2 separate regions of the Homo sapiens genome follow, and region 2 is linked to region 1. The links are contacts of gene promoters, found by promoter capture Hi-C in blood cells and fetal thymus (Javierre and others, 2016). All regions are on one chromosome and are shown on one strand. Each heading gives the region's core, a stretch centred on a gene start or on the middle of the fragment in contact. The rest is flanking DNA. Distances are from core to core; before and after follow the strand shown. Region 1 holds the start of SLC9B1 (solute carrier family 9 member B1). Region 2 has its middle 93 kb from the start of DDIT4L-AS1.

The links. The method cuts DNA at HindIII sites, captures the fragments that hold promoters and counts their contacts. A CHiCAGO score of 5 or more calls a contact.
Region 2: a fragment that was not itself captured here is called in contact with the fragment with the promoter of SLC9B1 in region 1 in 1 of 17 cell types (naive CD8 T cells); the score reaches 5.5 in naive CD8 T cells.

What each region holds. Positions count from the first base shown.
Region 1 is chr4:103,017,027-103,024,856 of GRCh38, forward strand. It overlaps SLC9B1 (solute carrier family 9 member B1), which reads right to left and starts at 2,679. Exons shown (of 12, transcript NM_139173.4): 1 at 2,573-2,679. It overlaps SLC9B2 (solute carrier family 9 member B2), which reads right to left. Exons shown (of 12, transcript NM_178833.7): 12 at 5,227-7,830. RefSeq lists an enhancer at 2,520-3,020. The HindIII fragment of the contact is 6,332 bases long and covers 1-3,314 here.
Region 2 is chr4:100,093,493-100,101,322 of GRCh38, forward strand. No RefSeq gene overlaps it. Among named protein-coding and RNA genes, the nearest start is that of DDIT4L-AS1, 93 kb to the right of the region's middle. The HindIII fragment of the contact is 4,881 bases long and covers 821-5,701 here.

The sequences.
Region 1 (7,830 bases), core at 1,429-3,928:
CCCTCCCACCGCCCTGGCTGCTCCTTTTTCTTCCTTAGTCTTTTCCATTTGGTAAATGGCACAATCATCCACACAAGCTCAAGACAAAAATTTAGGGGCTAGAGGTGACTCCTTTTTCATCACCTCTATATTCAAAACATCACAAAATCTGTAGGCTCTGCCCCCAAAATAGAGCTCACATACATCTACTTCTCTGCTATTTTATCCCAAACTTGTCATTCCTCTTTGGATTTCTGCAATTATCTTCTGCTATAGATCTTGCTCCCCACCCAGTATGATTCAGTCATCACATAATAGGCAGAACAAACCTTTTTACAATGTAAATCAGATCCTATCACTCCCTCCAACTCACTACTGGTTTCTCTTTACACTTTAAATAAATTCCAAACTTATTCCATGGGTAGATTTCCATGGCCTATTCAAAGCCTTACATGATTTGGCCCCTACCTATCCCTCCAAGCTCATCCTGTACCACTTTCTCTACATTTTAGCTTCAGTGGTCTTGATGATGTTCCTGGAAGGAGCCAAGTTCTTTCCTTCCTTAGGGCTCTTGCAATTGGAGTTGCCTTTACCTGTAGTGCGCTGATCCCAAATATTTCCATGGTTGGTTTTTAAAAATATCACTAAGCAATCAATCTAAACTAACCCCTCCCCCAGTCTTAAGGAAGACCTTTACAGTTTTACTTCTTCACTGTGCTTACTATTATCCAAAATTCCTTGCTCATATAGTTTACCTATTTTCTATCTTACACTCACTAGAATTTAAACTTCATAAGAACAGCGATCTTGCTAGTCTTTCTTACCATTGTATTCACAATGCCTAAAACAACGCCTGACAAAGTAGGATATTCTTTAAAAAATACTTAATGAATGCCTTTCCCTAAGCAAGTCACTTGACTTCTCTACTTAACTCACACTGGTGAGTTTACTACTGCTAGACTAAGCTCTGGATCCAGGAAAAACAAAAGTGGCTAAGGTATGGCTTCTTCAGAAGCTCATCCATTCATTCCCTCAAAAAATATTTATTGAACATATATTACACTATGTTCCAGGTACTATTCAATCTCAGTGTTTAGTAAACACCACAGTAACATGGGATTTGGTTAACCAACAGAAGTGTTTAAACAGGATGAGTACAAAAATAAGTACAAAATGAGAAGTACTATAAAAACGATACTTTATATGTTACAACTATAGCACCCACCTATTTCCTTGTGTCTAGTAATTGGCAGGACCTTATGACAAGAGCCAACTGAAAAACAGCAGTATAAATTCTGGTACTCTAAAAGCCCAGACTTCACCACTGTGCAATATATCCACACAACAAAACTGAACTTGTACTAACTAAATCTGTATAGAATTTTAAAAAGTAAGTTAAAAAAAATTCTGGTACTCACAGGGGACAATACCTATGAATGCCCTTTTCATAGGCACACAGTGACTAAAATATTTGGGGCATGAATTCTCTAGGGGTGACAATAATAAGTGTCATTTTTCATGCTTCTGTTGCACACATAATTATATTTATCTCTAAGGAAAATCAGAGAGTGGGGTGTGGCCTCCCTCAGTGCCACCTGGGCCAGTTGTCTCCCCACATCACCAAATCTGTTATTTCACAGGCTCTAGGACACCCATAGAGGGGGAGTGAGGGACCTGGTATGGTCCCGTGAAGAGCTCTTGTAACACTACTGATTGATGTGACAGACACAGTATGTGTGCAACTTTCCTTTTTCCTTCAAAAGCACTGGTCTAAAGCAGGGATCCCCAACCCCTGGGCAGCAGACAGGTACAGGTTTGTGGCCTATTAGGAACAGGCCACACAGCAGGTGAGCAGGGCTAGAGGATTATGCCTGAGCTCCAGCTCCTGTCAGATGAGCAAAGGCATTAGATTCTCATAGGAGCACAGACCTGATTATGAACTGCGCATGTGAGGGATCTAAATTGCGCCTTCTCAAGAGAATCTAATGCCTGATGATCTGAGATAGAAGAGTGTCATCCCATCTTGCCCCCCACCCCAAACTGTCTTCCATGAAACTGATCCCTGGTGCCAAAAAGGTTGGGGACTGCTGGAAGTGCTTGTCCCCTGGGTTAAAGCCAAGAGGAGTAAACAGGATTAAGGGGCGTGGATGTGGGTGGGTGGGGGAAGAGAGCTTTCTCAGGATCGGCAACCAATCCCAGAATCTCCAGTCGCAGGAGCATGTATGTGAAGGTTTATTTGCAGGGATCCACCGTTTGTAAAATAGTACACGCTTAATAAAATTAATTTTGAGGTCAATCTTAACTGACAGATCTCTTCTTTCTTACTGGCGAGTATTTGTAAAATAAGAAAAACAGGAGGAAAAGAGAACAAACAAGAGAGATGTGGGATGACGGAGTAAGGAAAGGAGTCACGGAGAGGAGAGACAATGTCTGTGGCTGTTCCCTCAGCGTCTGGGAGAAGAGCCCAAGAATCCCATTGAACTGAGGGGGAGGAAAGGCCCTCCTGCGGCCTACCGCAAGGAAACGATCGCGGCAGACCCGGGACTAGCGCCAAAGGGCTTGGAAGGGCGGCGTTAAGAAAAATGGGCCGTACCTACAACTTCTTTCGCAGCCCTCGCTGGCCCGGGAGCGGCCCAGGAGCCCAGTGACCGTTGCGTAAGCCACGCGCCACCCAGGTGGGCAGGGTGGTGACGCGAAAGCCCGGATAGACTTCCGCGCAGGGGCGGGGCGGGGCGAGGAGGCGGCAGCGCGTTTAAGTGACGTCTTGGCTGTCCGCGCCGGCAGAGGCGAGGGTTCTGGGGTTTCTGGGACTGTCTGGTGTGTTTTCTGTCTATTGAACCCTTTCCTTTCGACGTCTCTTCTGAATATTGACTCATCGGGTTGTAGAAATCCAGGGACAGAGTTGACATCACTGGGCATTTTAGCCAAAAAGCAGTGCTCGGGACTGCATGTGCCAGAAGTAAACTTGTCAAAACTCAGATTGTGTTTCCCCTAAAGTCAGCTTAAAGTGCAATGGTAGAAGAGCACGGTCTCTCCCCAAGACGGCCTGAGCTTAAACTGCAGCGCTGTCACTTGCTAGCTATGGGACCTAGGCAAATACATCGTCTCCCTGAGGTTGTCTTCTCATCTGTAAAGGACGCTGTGGTGGTGGTGTGAGAATAAATGAGACATGGCAAGTGTCTGGAACAAAGACGCTGTGTACAAAGTAAACACTTAATATACTGTTATCAGTATAAAACCTTTGTGAGTTTTTTTTTTTTTTCCGCATGAAATCTTATGTGGAAAGTTGTATGTGAAAGAAATGAAAGCGGAGCTGCGTTGATGGTGGGCCCAGAAGCTTTGGCCTTTCAGTCCCAAAGTTTCCAGTAATAGAATCCGCGCTTCCTATAAAAGACAAAAACAACTGTTATTGGAGAAAGTGTAAACTTCTTAGAAAGACAAACTGCCCTTTCCTATCTAATGTTTCTCCTGACACTCAATGTTTACTCTTGAACACTGTATTCCTTTTTGCCTCAGTGCGTTCTGTAAAGTTAATTCCTCTACCGGAGTGTTCTTTTTCTTAGTCATCATCTAAGATCTGATCCAAATTACCGTTCCTTCTTGGGTAACTTAAATACGAAATTATCTTTTTATTGGTTTTGTTGACGTTGTTGAGACAGGGTCTCACTCTATTACCCCGGCTGGAGTGCAGTGCGATCTAGGCTCCCTGCAGCCTCCTCCTCCTTGGTTCAAGCGATCCTCCTGCCTCCTGAGTAGCTGGGACTACAGGTGGGCACCACTACCCCCGGCTAATTTTTGTATTTTTAGTAGAGAGGAGTTTCACATATTGCCCAGGAGGACTTGAACTCCTGGACTTAAGTGATCTGCCCGTCTTGGCTTCCCACAGTACTGGGATTACAAGCGTGAGCCACCACAGCCCTGCCCTTTTTATTGTTTTTAACACCTTCCCTCCTTCAACGTGTTATAGACATCTCAGCAAGGATTTATTTTTCTTCCTCGTTTCAGGAGAGTAGACAGGGTTTCATGATTATAGGGTTAAGGAAATGTTTTGTACTCATGAAAAGGAAATGTTTTGTACTCACAGGAAAAGCAGGTAGATCCCTAAAGATAATGGGAGTTGGGACAAATGGTAAACCTGGGAAGGAAGACCTTTGCTAGGAGTCTGTTTGCCTCCAAGGCACTACTCTTATGCTCTAGAAGGAATGGGCTCCTGGAGAGGTAAGTGCTTTAGGGTCCATGTAAGGAAGATGGAGCGCACATCAACAAATGGAGTTTTGGAATTCTCACCAGGCCAGAGGGCTCAGGCTGGATTTGAGTCAGTCAACTATAAATATAATATTACGTACTCCCCAAATGCCATGAAGCAATTCCCACTTGTTACAGAGAGGTACATAAATGATTCATATAAAAATATAATGTTCTGAGACATTAAAAAAATACAGTGGTTCTTTGGGAGACAATATAATGAAAATTTACTAATAAAAAACATTTAAACAATCATCTGATAACCTTTCTTATAAAAATTAAGTTTTAAAAATAAGTAAATTGATTATATTTGCAACAAAGTCATGGAAAGCAAAAGCTTTTGAGGAATAAGGAGAATCTTAACTGAGAGCAATTTTTTAAAACTATACATGACATGATAAAAAAAGTTTTAACACTTTCTACATAGTTTCATACTTCTGAAAGTACTTCAATAAAAATATTTAGCCAATGATCTATTTAGTATGATTTCAGTGCCAACTTTCTTTTCTAGTCTTATCTCTAATTCTCTTCATCAATCTCAAGTGCCAATCACTTTCTATGCTCCAGGCTTTACTGTTTTCAAAACTTTGCTAATATGCCAGCCTCCCACACTAGTTGTTCCCATCTTCACCTTACTCCCTAATATTACCCCATCCATCCAGATCCTCTCCATTCTTGAAGGTCTAGTTCAAGTATCAGTTCCTCTAAGATTTCCTCAACTTCTACACTAAAAACACTTTTGAATTATTCACTTGGATTATAGCTATTTGTACATATCTTATTTCCTTCTAAGGTTCTTAAAGGCAAGTATCATGTCTTATTCATATTTGTATTCCTCACATTGTCAATTTTCCACTAGAATCAAGTTCTATTGAAAACCAAGCCCTTGAATATCTTGTTCATCACTGTATTCCCTAGTATCTAGCACAAGACCTGGCACACAGTAGGCATGTTATAATATATTCTGAGTGAGGGAGTAAATGGATTTTAAAACAAGCTCCATGAAGGCAGGGATTTGTCTGTTTTATTCATTGCAAAATGAATATCTGAATATAAACATGAAGGCTTAGCATTCATTATATACAAAAAAATTCTTCAATCTACATAGCATCATAAAAGCCAAATATGAAATACTTATGTTGCCTTTCACCCAACAAATTCAGTTGATGATATATCTTTCTGAAAATAATACATCCCCCAAAACTGCAGTACAATTTTAAAGAAAAATAAAATACATGTTTATATTAGTTTCAGTTTTCTTGTTTGTATTTTTCTGTGTTCTAAATTTTTTGCAATGAAAATGTGTTACTTTATAATCAGAAAAAAATACTATTTTTAAAGAATGTAGTGGATGAGATCATTTGCAAATGTTTACCTGAGGAAATTTTGAGGACATCAAGATCAATCAAGGTGATTGGGAGTTAATACCAGACAGAAATATACTGTCCTTGGAAATATGACACTTCTTTCAGGGACTGAATTATGTCCTTCCCCACACATTCATATGTTGAAGCCTTAACTTCCAATGTGATGTATTTAGATATGAGGATTTGGGAAGGCAATTAGATTTGGATGAGGTCATGAGGGTAGGGCCCTCATGCTGTGATTAGAGTACCCTTATAAGAAGAGACACCAGAGAGCTTGCTTGCTCTCTCTCGGCATCAAGTGATGACACATGAGTGAGAGGGTGAGAATGTGGCCATTGGCAAGCCAGGGAGAGAGACTTCACCAGAGCCCAACAATGCTGGCATCCTGATCTCGAACTTCCAACCTTTAATAGAAGTAAGTTTCTGTTGTGTAAGCCACCCAGTGTATGGTATTTTGTTATAGCAGCCCAAGCTGACTAAGATAGACTAAGTGGACTAAGATCCGAACTGTCGTGTGGCAAGTAGTTTTCTGATATTGAGAGAGGATCCTCTTCCTCTCAGATTTAGTCAGTAAATGTTTATTAAATGTCTACTGTGTTCCATGCCCTGTGAAAAATGCTGAGGATTCAAGGATAATTAAGACAAGGTTCCTACCCATAGGGAGCTGATTTAATAAGAGACAAACATGTAAATAAAGTGAAAAAAAGTGTTACATGTGCTCTGACATAAGTATGTATAAGGGACCCAAAAGTTAGAGTAATTGTTTCTATCTGTGGTTTAAGAGGGGATAGGTTGAGTTGGTCAGTACTCTATCAGGTTAACCCTAAGTTCACCAACCAAGTCAAGAGATGTGGCTTTCAATGTGGTGACAAACCCCGGCCTTCACATGGTGAGCCCTGCTGAATGGTCAGCCTCTGTCATTCTTGACCTCACCATCTCCATGATATATAACAGCAACATAGTCTTATAGCAATTAATAAATTCCTACAAAGAGCTTCCAGGAATAGGCACAAATTTCAGAGATCCAATAGAGGAAGTCAAAAAGCCAGCACTGGGCAGTCACAGAGATTTAGATGGTGGCTACCCTCTTAGAGGTAGAAAAGAGTTTGCTGCATGACCTCAAAATGAAAACAGGTATTGGCAGTGGCTTCAGGTGCCCTTCAATCATTTCTGTACTCTGTGGACTTCCATTTCTAATTTTCCTAGGGGCCCTAAACATATTCAATAGCATTCTGATTTAGTTATACTAACTGTATTATGTATAAGTTAATAAATATTCCAAGCCTGTTACTTGGAGAAAATGCCACTGATGACCTGGGAAACAGCATGAAGTGTAACACTTTTTGGTCTTACATCCCTTTTGCTGGCTAAGTCCTAATCTTCCCTCAGCCAATGCCCTACTTTCTCTGGGAAGCTGTGCCTAAACTCCACCACCCTTGGATTGATTGAGTGCTCCTGCCATGAGCTCCCTAGCAGCCCTGTAGTTCCTGCATAATAGCACTTATCATATTGTTTTGCAATGTCTTGTTTAACTGTCTGTTTTCTCTATTGGACTGTTAAATCCTTAAGGACAGGGACAATATTATTCTTGATGATGTGCCTGGATCTCAAAAGCTTTCAGTAAGTATTTTTTGGATGCATCTACTTTTAGAGCCTGCAAAAATAGAGGACCAGATGATCATTAAGTTTATGGTGCTCCCAGCAAAGTGCACCTAACCAATGAAGTTCAGTTCAAAACACTTATCTGACCTTTGGTATAAATTAATCAAGTCCAAATCAAGAGCATAAACATTAAAGGAATACAGCACCATAGGGTAACCAAAGCAAAGTTGACATAAAATTGAAGGCTATTTAGAAGAAGTGAATATTAAACTAGTTTTGAATAGAGGTGAAAGCCATGGTGGATAGGGCTCGAACAGAAGTCTAATGAAGAGAGGAATGGACAGGCTTTATTTATGCAGATCAGCTTGGTGGGATTAGGATATTCATAATTCATTCATCTAATACATATTTAATATCTACTTCAAGATTAAAATGAACTTTGAATTCTAGGTCGAGGAGTTTAGATAGGATATGACAAGTATGTAATAAACACTTCAGGTACACAGATAACATGATAAAAACTGTAAACTGTATGTGAATGTGATTATTTCAGTAACTACACAGAAGATGACCTAGAGTGAAGAGGAACTTATGAGTGATACACAAAAGCAGAGATGGCCTGTTACAAAGTAGGATA
Region 2 (7,830 bases), core at 2,011-4,510, 2.9 Mb before region 1:
AGACAAATACAATTGAAGCCCCAGGTAGTTTTCCTGAGGCCTCATGATTTCTTTTGGCAGAGAAACCTATGATAGCTGGTGGCCACTAGGGGTCCCCAGAAGGCTTTTTTAATGAACAAGAGGCACCCGCGCTCCTCACCCCTCCCTTTCCTTCCCACAAATGCCAGGGGTAAAAACAACTTTAAGCTCTGACGTCAGCCAGCCAGGGGAGCCACCCTGTTGTGCCCATAGGTATAGCTAAGCTTCTGAGAACTGGGGCCTGGTGCTTTCCCTGGCAGCCCAATTTTCAGCTTAAATCATTGCCTTAATGTTATTTTAATGTGCTTGGGGTCCCTGGGGGACAGAGTGGGTGGCAGGGGAACAGCATTTAATTTCCTTTGGAGTTTGGAATGTGCCTGACACTTCTTAAGTACTTGAGTGAATATGAGAGTCTGTAATCCTTGCAAGAGCAAGCAACTTTGGGGGCCTTCTTATTTGGCAAGCTTCAAGACAAAGTTAAATTTTTGCTAGGAGAGAGGGAAAAAAGGAAATAAACATGTATTAAAAGTCTGATATATGCCATGGGCTTTACATTTATTATATTATTAAATCTCAAAAATAACCTCATCCAGTTGGAATTATTGTTCTAAATGCTAATATTAGGAAGGAGACATTCAGATTAAACAATTTGCCTACTGTTTACAGCTGATAAATGACCCAGGTAAGACCACAGCACTGGTCAATTAGGATCCGCAATCCAGGCTATGCTCTCAGTATCCTTCAGCCTTCTGGTTTTACTGTGAGGGCTCTCACAAAGGAATCTACTCATTGTTTTACCTGAAGCTTTTAAAGTACATAACCAAATCCAAACCTATAAAGGTGAAATAGCACTTTTCTAGATAATAAAATTAAAGCCTGAATGTAATCAAGCAAATGCTTATTAGGGATATTTTGTCCACCAGGTGCTATGTCTAATGCAGGTTCTGTTGAGGGCCTCATGTGCTTAATTCAGAGTAAAAACAAACAAACAAACAAAAAACACTAATGTTAGGGCAAATGTATTATTTTGACCAGAATGACATAGATTGGCTGTGTCCACATCAACTAAATAAAGTGAGCAATTATCTGATGAATTGCTGCTGAAGAGAAACACTTGATTCTTTACCACATTACCAAAAGGGTAGATTGACAAATAAAGAAGAATGTATCAGGCTTGAAGGTTGGCCAAAAATTGCCAGTCAATACTCTGGAAGTTTAGCAACAGGGAAATATCATAAGGGTTTATTTGAATCAGCCCTGTCACAGTGCCCAACCCAGTGCCTGGTGTAGTGTAGGCTCTCCGTGAAGGCAGAATCAACGTTGAATGATGTTTTTAAAAATGTTTATAGGCCCACTGTGAACATCCCAGTCTCCCTTCAGCTGAAGTCACTTTATGTTGACTCAAAACAATCTGCCCTCCAAACGAAAGTGTAAAATAAGAAACCAAGGCTTAGACGCTTCAAACACCAAAGCACCCTCTTCTTATATTCCTCCTAATTGTTAGTAGAGTAAGGTGTTTGGCTATTATTAGTCTCCCAGTGCTTACGTATTTGCTGGAAATATGCCTCATCCTCATGTATTACACCTTCTGCATAATCTAGTTTTATCATGTAGAAATTCCAAGGATTTATGAAGGTGAAATGACTCTGAAGTCCCTTGGATGAGGCTTATTAAGTGGCCCATTTCTTCTGAAATTCAGGGAGCTGAACTACAGCAAGGATGGATTGCCAAAATACATATTATGTAATTTTAAGTCACTTGCGCATGACTAAAACCTTAACCATGGTCAACGTAGGAGAAAATGATAATGATGTAATTTATTTGTGCTCACGTTACCATCTCCCCACCCAACAGTGCCTTAAAATAGATACAACGGATAAACTAGTAGAACCCTTTTTAAAAACATCAATGGCCACTTTCAAAGGAAAACAAAGTAAGGAAAGGAAAAAGAAGATCTGAAAAGGAACATTCAAAGGTGGGGTCTTAATTTCATCTGTGCTCATGGGAGACAGGGGGTGACATCATTTGGTAGAGAAGATGTCTGAAAATTCAGCCTCTTGAAAAGAACAATGTCAATCTATTCTCACTTTTAAAATTTGAAAAAGAGGAATGGTAATAACAACATTTACCATTTATTGAGCCTTCTTATGTGCCAGGTTCTAACCCGAACTGAAATCTAAAATAATTTCTCTTGAATCCTTAGAAGTTTGATGTTATTATCCTGATGTGTATGAGGAAAAAACTTAAAGAAGTTAGTATTTGCCTACCCTCCTACAGCTCATGAGTTTTGATGGTTTCTTGAGTTGTTGGGAAGATTTGCTAACACTGGTGGTCTCACTGTGCTTTTTCACTGGGGCATATGGTTATGGGTTAAAGAGTGGTGGCCTTGGCTTAGGGTTAACAAAAGTAATATTAATAGTAGCTGCAAGTTATTGAGTGTCCACTGTGAGCCAGTCTCTTCACGCTTATCATCTCTTAATTTTCACCAAATTATCTGCAAGGAAAGTTTTATCTTTTAATTTTCACAGAGGAAAGAAAGTTGACTGAGGAAACTGAGGTTTATGTTGCAAGAAAGTGATGAAACCAGGATCAAAGCCAGCTTTGCCTGTGTTCTTTCCACCTTCCAGTCCCCGCTGTCCTGTGAGGATAATTAGCAAACGCAGACGTGCTCGCTCGCACAGAACACGCTCCCTCTGGTGGAAGTCAGAGAGGTACACAATGAGGCCCTTGTATGAGTCAACCCTTTCTGGGTTTCAGGAGAATCTGACCTTGTTTCTTACTTTGTCATCTCCTGTTGCTTAGCTAGAGACCCTAAATATGCATCTTCTATTTGTGACTCTGTTTTTCTGTTTTGCTTATTATTATTAAAAATAGCTGACAAAACAAACAGTAGGGCAACTTACAAAATATGAATGAATGACACATACCCACAGTCTCTCCTTTTTTTTTGTTTTATTTTGTTTTCTTTCCCACTTTAGACACTTTGGGTGGTTAGCAAAATCTACCAGAATATATCTTACTTGTTTTCAGGATCTGTCAGAAAATTGTTATGTTGTCTTGGATCCTGAGCCTGCTGTTTTGCCCACACCCTTGTTTGGCATGAGGTGAGACTAGGAATAAGAGAATAAACAGTTGCTTGTACAACATTTTCATAGAGAGGAAGTTATTATATGACACCCAAGCAGAGAAACTCTTCTTCTTAATCCAGGATGACTGAGGAGGCCAGAGCTCTCCTTTTTGCTCTGGAACCATGAGCCTGCATTCCCTCGCTGCCTTTGGCACCTTGGCTTTCTACCTTCATGTTCTGAATATGTTGTGTTTTTCTCTCCCATTATGCTGTAAACTTGGCAATAGTGGGGACCGAGTTCCCTAACTGATTTTATCCTGTTTCTAGTAGTAAAAGGTTTTCAGTCAGGCTTGGTGGAAACAAATATAAAGAAGATAAATAGATTGGATATGAGTTCAAGTACCTGACAAGGAATTTGGACATTCTTTTATAGTCCAGTAGTTCTTAAACTTTTTTTTTTCCTAGGCCAGCGCCTGGGGATGTGATACACTCTGACCAGTGATTATTATCCTCTTTTCTTGAGTGCATGTGAGTGTGTTTTGTGGGGAGGGGAGAAGAGCAGGCACAGGCAGCCATCTAGTAAAAAGTTCCAATGAGAGGCATCTAGTTTTTGAAAAAAAAAAAAAAAAAAAGAAAAGAAAGAAAAAAAAAATCCCTTCATGGCATGTGAAAACCATCCTCCCAGCCCTGACCAGGGCGGTGGAGAGAGTGAAGAGCCACTGAAGTTTTTGAGTGGGAACATGGGAAGATGAGACGTATTTTTGGAATACCATTGTTCAGGTGTACTGGGCTCGGAGTGGGCATGAACTCAGAGATAGGAGGAAACTATAGTCCCTTTATTTTAATGCTGTGAAAATCTGAGCTATATTGTGGATAAGGAGCTGAAGAGGAGGGGTGAATGTGAGACATACAATGAAGGAATAATTGATAAGGGGAAGAAAGGAAGAATCATTACTACCTTTAGAGAATCTGAGCTTCCCTGATGGGGATAGAGTGATTCCATTAATAGTTACAGGGTAGTAAAATGGAAAAGCCAGGGCAGAAGACGTTTTCACTTTCTTAAGTTGACATCGGTTAGAATTAACTCTTGTTTAATTTTCATATTTGTAAATAGTTTTGTAGTCAAGCATTCCTCCTTACAAATATTTATTTTGTTGGAGGATGTTTAGTTTGCTAGGTACAAATAATTTGATGGCACAACTGTTTTTGCATGTTTCATCCTCTCTGAATTAAGACTCTTTATTTTTCATGAAATCTTTATTGATGCTAACATGTGAGAGTGAATACTTACAGAAATATGTGTGAGTGATGACAGTTTGAACAGATGGAATTAGTCAAATTCTCTTAAGTTCAGATTCATGTCTATAGATCAGTTTCTACAATCCAGATCATAGTCCTTTCTTTTATGGGGAAAATATCCCATGGCTTAATGGGGCAGATACTCTTCAAAGATAGCTGTCAAATCCTCTCCTTTCTTTATGCATGTGCAGCTTTTTTCTATCAGGAGGTGGGTTCTATCTCTCTTTTTCTGAATCTCGACAGGCTTTGTGACAGGCTTTAACCAATAGGAGGTGGCAGAAGTGAAGCTCTGCTGCTTCAGGGCCTTGCCATTAAGAGGCTTGGCAGAGTCTGCTTTTGCTGTCTTGGATCTCGTCCTCGATGCCGTAAGGAAATCTAGGCCATCCTGCTGAAGAGGAAGGTCATGAGGAAAAGCTCTTGAAGATGGGAAATCACGGAGAAAGAGACGGCGTGTGAGGGAGAACCAAAATGCCCCAGCTAAGAGCCAGCACCACAACTGGAGACATGCTCAGCCCCTCCACCTGCTGAGTGCACCACACAGAGCAGACACAATCCAAGCAATAATTAATCACTGTTTGCATCATTAAGTGTTAGGTTGGTTTGTACATATTGGTTAACTTACTTACTTATCTACTTAAAATTCCTTTTTATCATGTAATGATTAAAAGAGAAAAAAATGTAGGTTACAATGCATGATAATAAAACAAGACTTATGTGAACTCCCCAAGTGAGAACTAGAATATTTACAAAACTATTGAAGCTAAACCTGTGGCCCAATCAGAGATAATCACCTGATAATCAATTTGGCTATCCCCTTGCTTAAAAAAAAAGCATCGTCATTTATCTGTCACCAAATAACATAGCAATTAATTGAAGCAGGAATCTTTGGAGAAAGCTGTGTTCTGAGCCCTATCTCTTTGCTAATCTCTGAAAGGGAGGATATATGGGGATTATAGCTTAACTTCAAGACTTGAAAAAGAGATTTCAAGTGGATGACTCAGAGAGCTCTGCCTGTGCCCCCTGCCTCTGGGAGTTGAGTGGACAGAGATGGACTGGCTAACTGCTTTCTTTGGTGGCATAGCCAGGCGAGTTTCTGTTGCTGAGGTATTAGCCTGCATTCCCAAGGTTTATCAAAGAAAAGGTAGTGCTAGAGTTTTTCATGGACCATGGGCATTGAGAGAGAGAGAGAAGTTTTTAGTTGTGACCAGTATGAGCATCCAGAGAGCCAAAGAGACCCCAGCAGCAAGAAACCAAGTTCTGAGGTTCTCAAGGGTTGGTGAAGGAAAATTAAATAATAACCCAAAAGAGAGACTCACAAGCTTAGTTAGAATAACTGCAGGACAGAGGGCCCCAATGATACAAATCTCTGAAAAGCCCAGGAGAGCCCCCACAAGATAGTTTTCTTTAAACACCTGCCAGGTCCAGAAGGCCCAAAGACAACTCATGATCATACTAGTCCAAGTCACACATTTCTTACACTCTTTCATCTCCTCTCTCTGTTCAAAGACAGAGGAGATGAGCAGACCCTCTTGCTGCTCAAAGTGTGGTCCCAGGACCAGTAGTAAGAGCATCACTTTAGGGCTTCTTAGAAATGCTGAAACTCAGGCCCCACCCAGATCTATTGAATCATCTGCATTTTAACAAGATCTCCAAGTGATCTGAATATGCATTAGGGTCTGAGGAGTATGGAAAACCCAAGTTGGTGTTCACAAATTGGTAGACGTGCAGTGGGGAAAGCTTCCTGGGAATGAGAAAAATCAACACTTGAAACAGAGGAAAGCCTTTCTCATTAAACAAATCTTAGAGGGAAAGTGGGCAATGAAAGTAAAGTTGCATTTCATTTACATCCCTCATGTTGTGTGTGTTCTAAATATCAAGCATAGCCATTTGATAAAGGCTAGTTTATTTCTTCCCTTTTTGACTTTTATAATAGTTGTTTCTCAAACTGTAGTCTGCTTCAGAATCTCCTGGGCTACCTGAGCTTCAGAGCTAATGACTTGGACTTTGGACTCCACCTGTTTTGGTTTATTTTTGTTTTTTTTAGAGAAAGAGTCACGCTCTGTCACCTAGGCTGATATGTAGTGGCATGACCTTGGCTCACTGCAGCCTTAAACTCCTGGGCTTAAGCAATCCTCCTGCCTAGGCCTCTCAAAGTGCTGTGATTATAGGCATCAGCTGCTACTCCAGTCCTCATCTGCAGTTTCTATAAGCATCCTAGGTAATTCTTATATACATTAACACTTAGGATGACTGATCTAGCACTCGCTGGGTCCCTAGACTTTGTCCTGTGGCTGCCATTTCTTTCTCACCCTATGTTCCTGTATTATTACTCTAAAGCTGGTCACATCAAAACCATGGGAGAGGGGAAGATCAGCAATGAGAGGAAGGGAGGGTAAATTCCATACTGTTGCTGAATGAAGACCATTACCCTCAATCTTTTCCCAGCTTCTGCTCTCTTGCTTTGTGTATACATAATCCCATCTTTCTGTCCTAGCCCACCTGAGTTCCCTGTCTTCTAACCCTCTGATAGCCTTAACACACACTAGGAAGCACAACCTGAAAATGGGGTAAATCCACTTGCCCTGCAGCAGTTTTGGGGATTGGGAGGACCAGCTCTCCCTGCCAGGGCTGTATTTATAGGTGGAGGTGTGTTCTCAAGCCTAGCTTGGAATGCCAAATGAATTTTGTTACAGAACCTAATGGAGTGTTATTACTTACACTTTAGATCAGAACTGTGGACTGGTCTGAGAAAATGGCCAATATTAGCAATGGTTTTTAGTGAAAAATCTATCAATTTGACTTACGAATTTGGGAGACTTTAACCCATTTTCAAACAGGGAACTGCTTCTGATACTGTGTCAAAGCTTGCAGAAGTTAAGGTGAATCTGTTCATTCACAGCCTCCTTGGGATATGATAACGTCTTTCTAAACAGAAGAAACTTAGCGACATCTCAGTAACACCTAAAGATGCCTCAGTCATTGGCATATGGCCACTCTGAATATGATATGGTGTTAAATTCACCAGAAAGACCAGCTTGTCCTAAAAAGTATATTTGTGGTTCTGAATGCAACTCTCATTTGTAAAAAGGATTCCAGAATCAAATGTCTAATCATTTCTTTTTGTTTAAGATAGGCTTTGTGATATTTCTTAGGCTGTAGGGGAGGTAGAAGGCTGAAGGCTGCAGGAAGATAATGGGCGTGTGGAGAGCCCTGCTGGGGCTCTGTCTGAGCTCCTCCTGGGAATAGCTTCCCTAGAGAATGGAACTCCATGGCCTCCACATTTCTGAGGGATTACCACAAACGTGGTTGCTGTCAGGAACAAAGCAAAAGGCAGAGTGATCCCAAAGCCCTCTTGCCCGGAATGTCCTGCTGCTGACATGAAGTGAAACTTACAGAGGAAGGAAATGTCATTTTCACACAGTTAACCACAGGTGTACAGAGGGCCC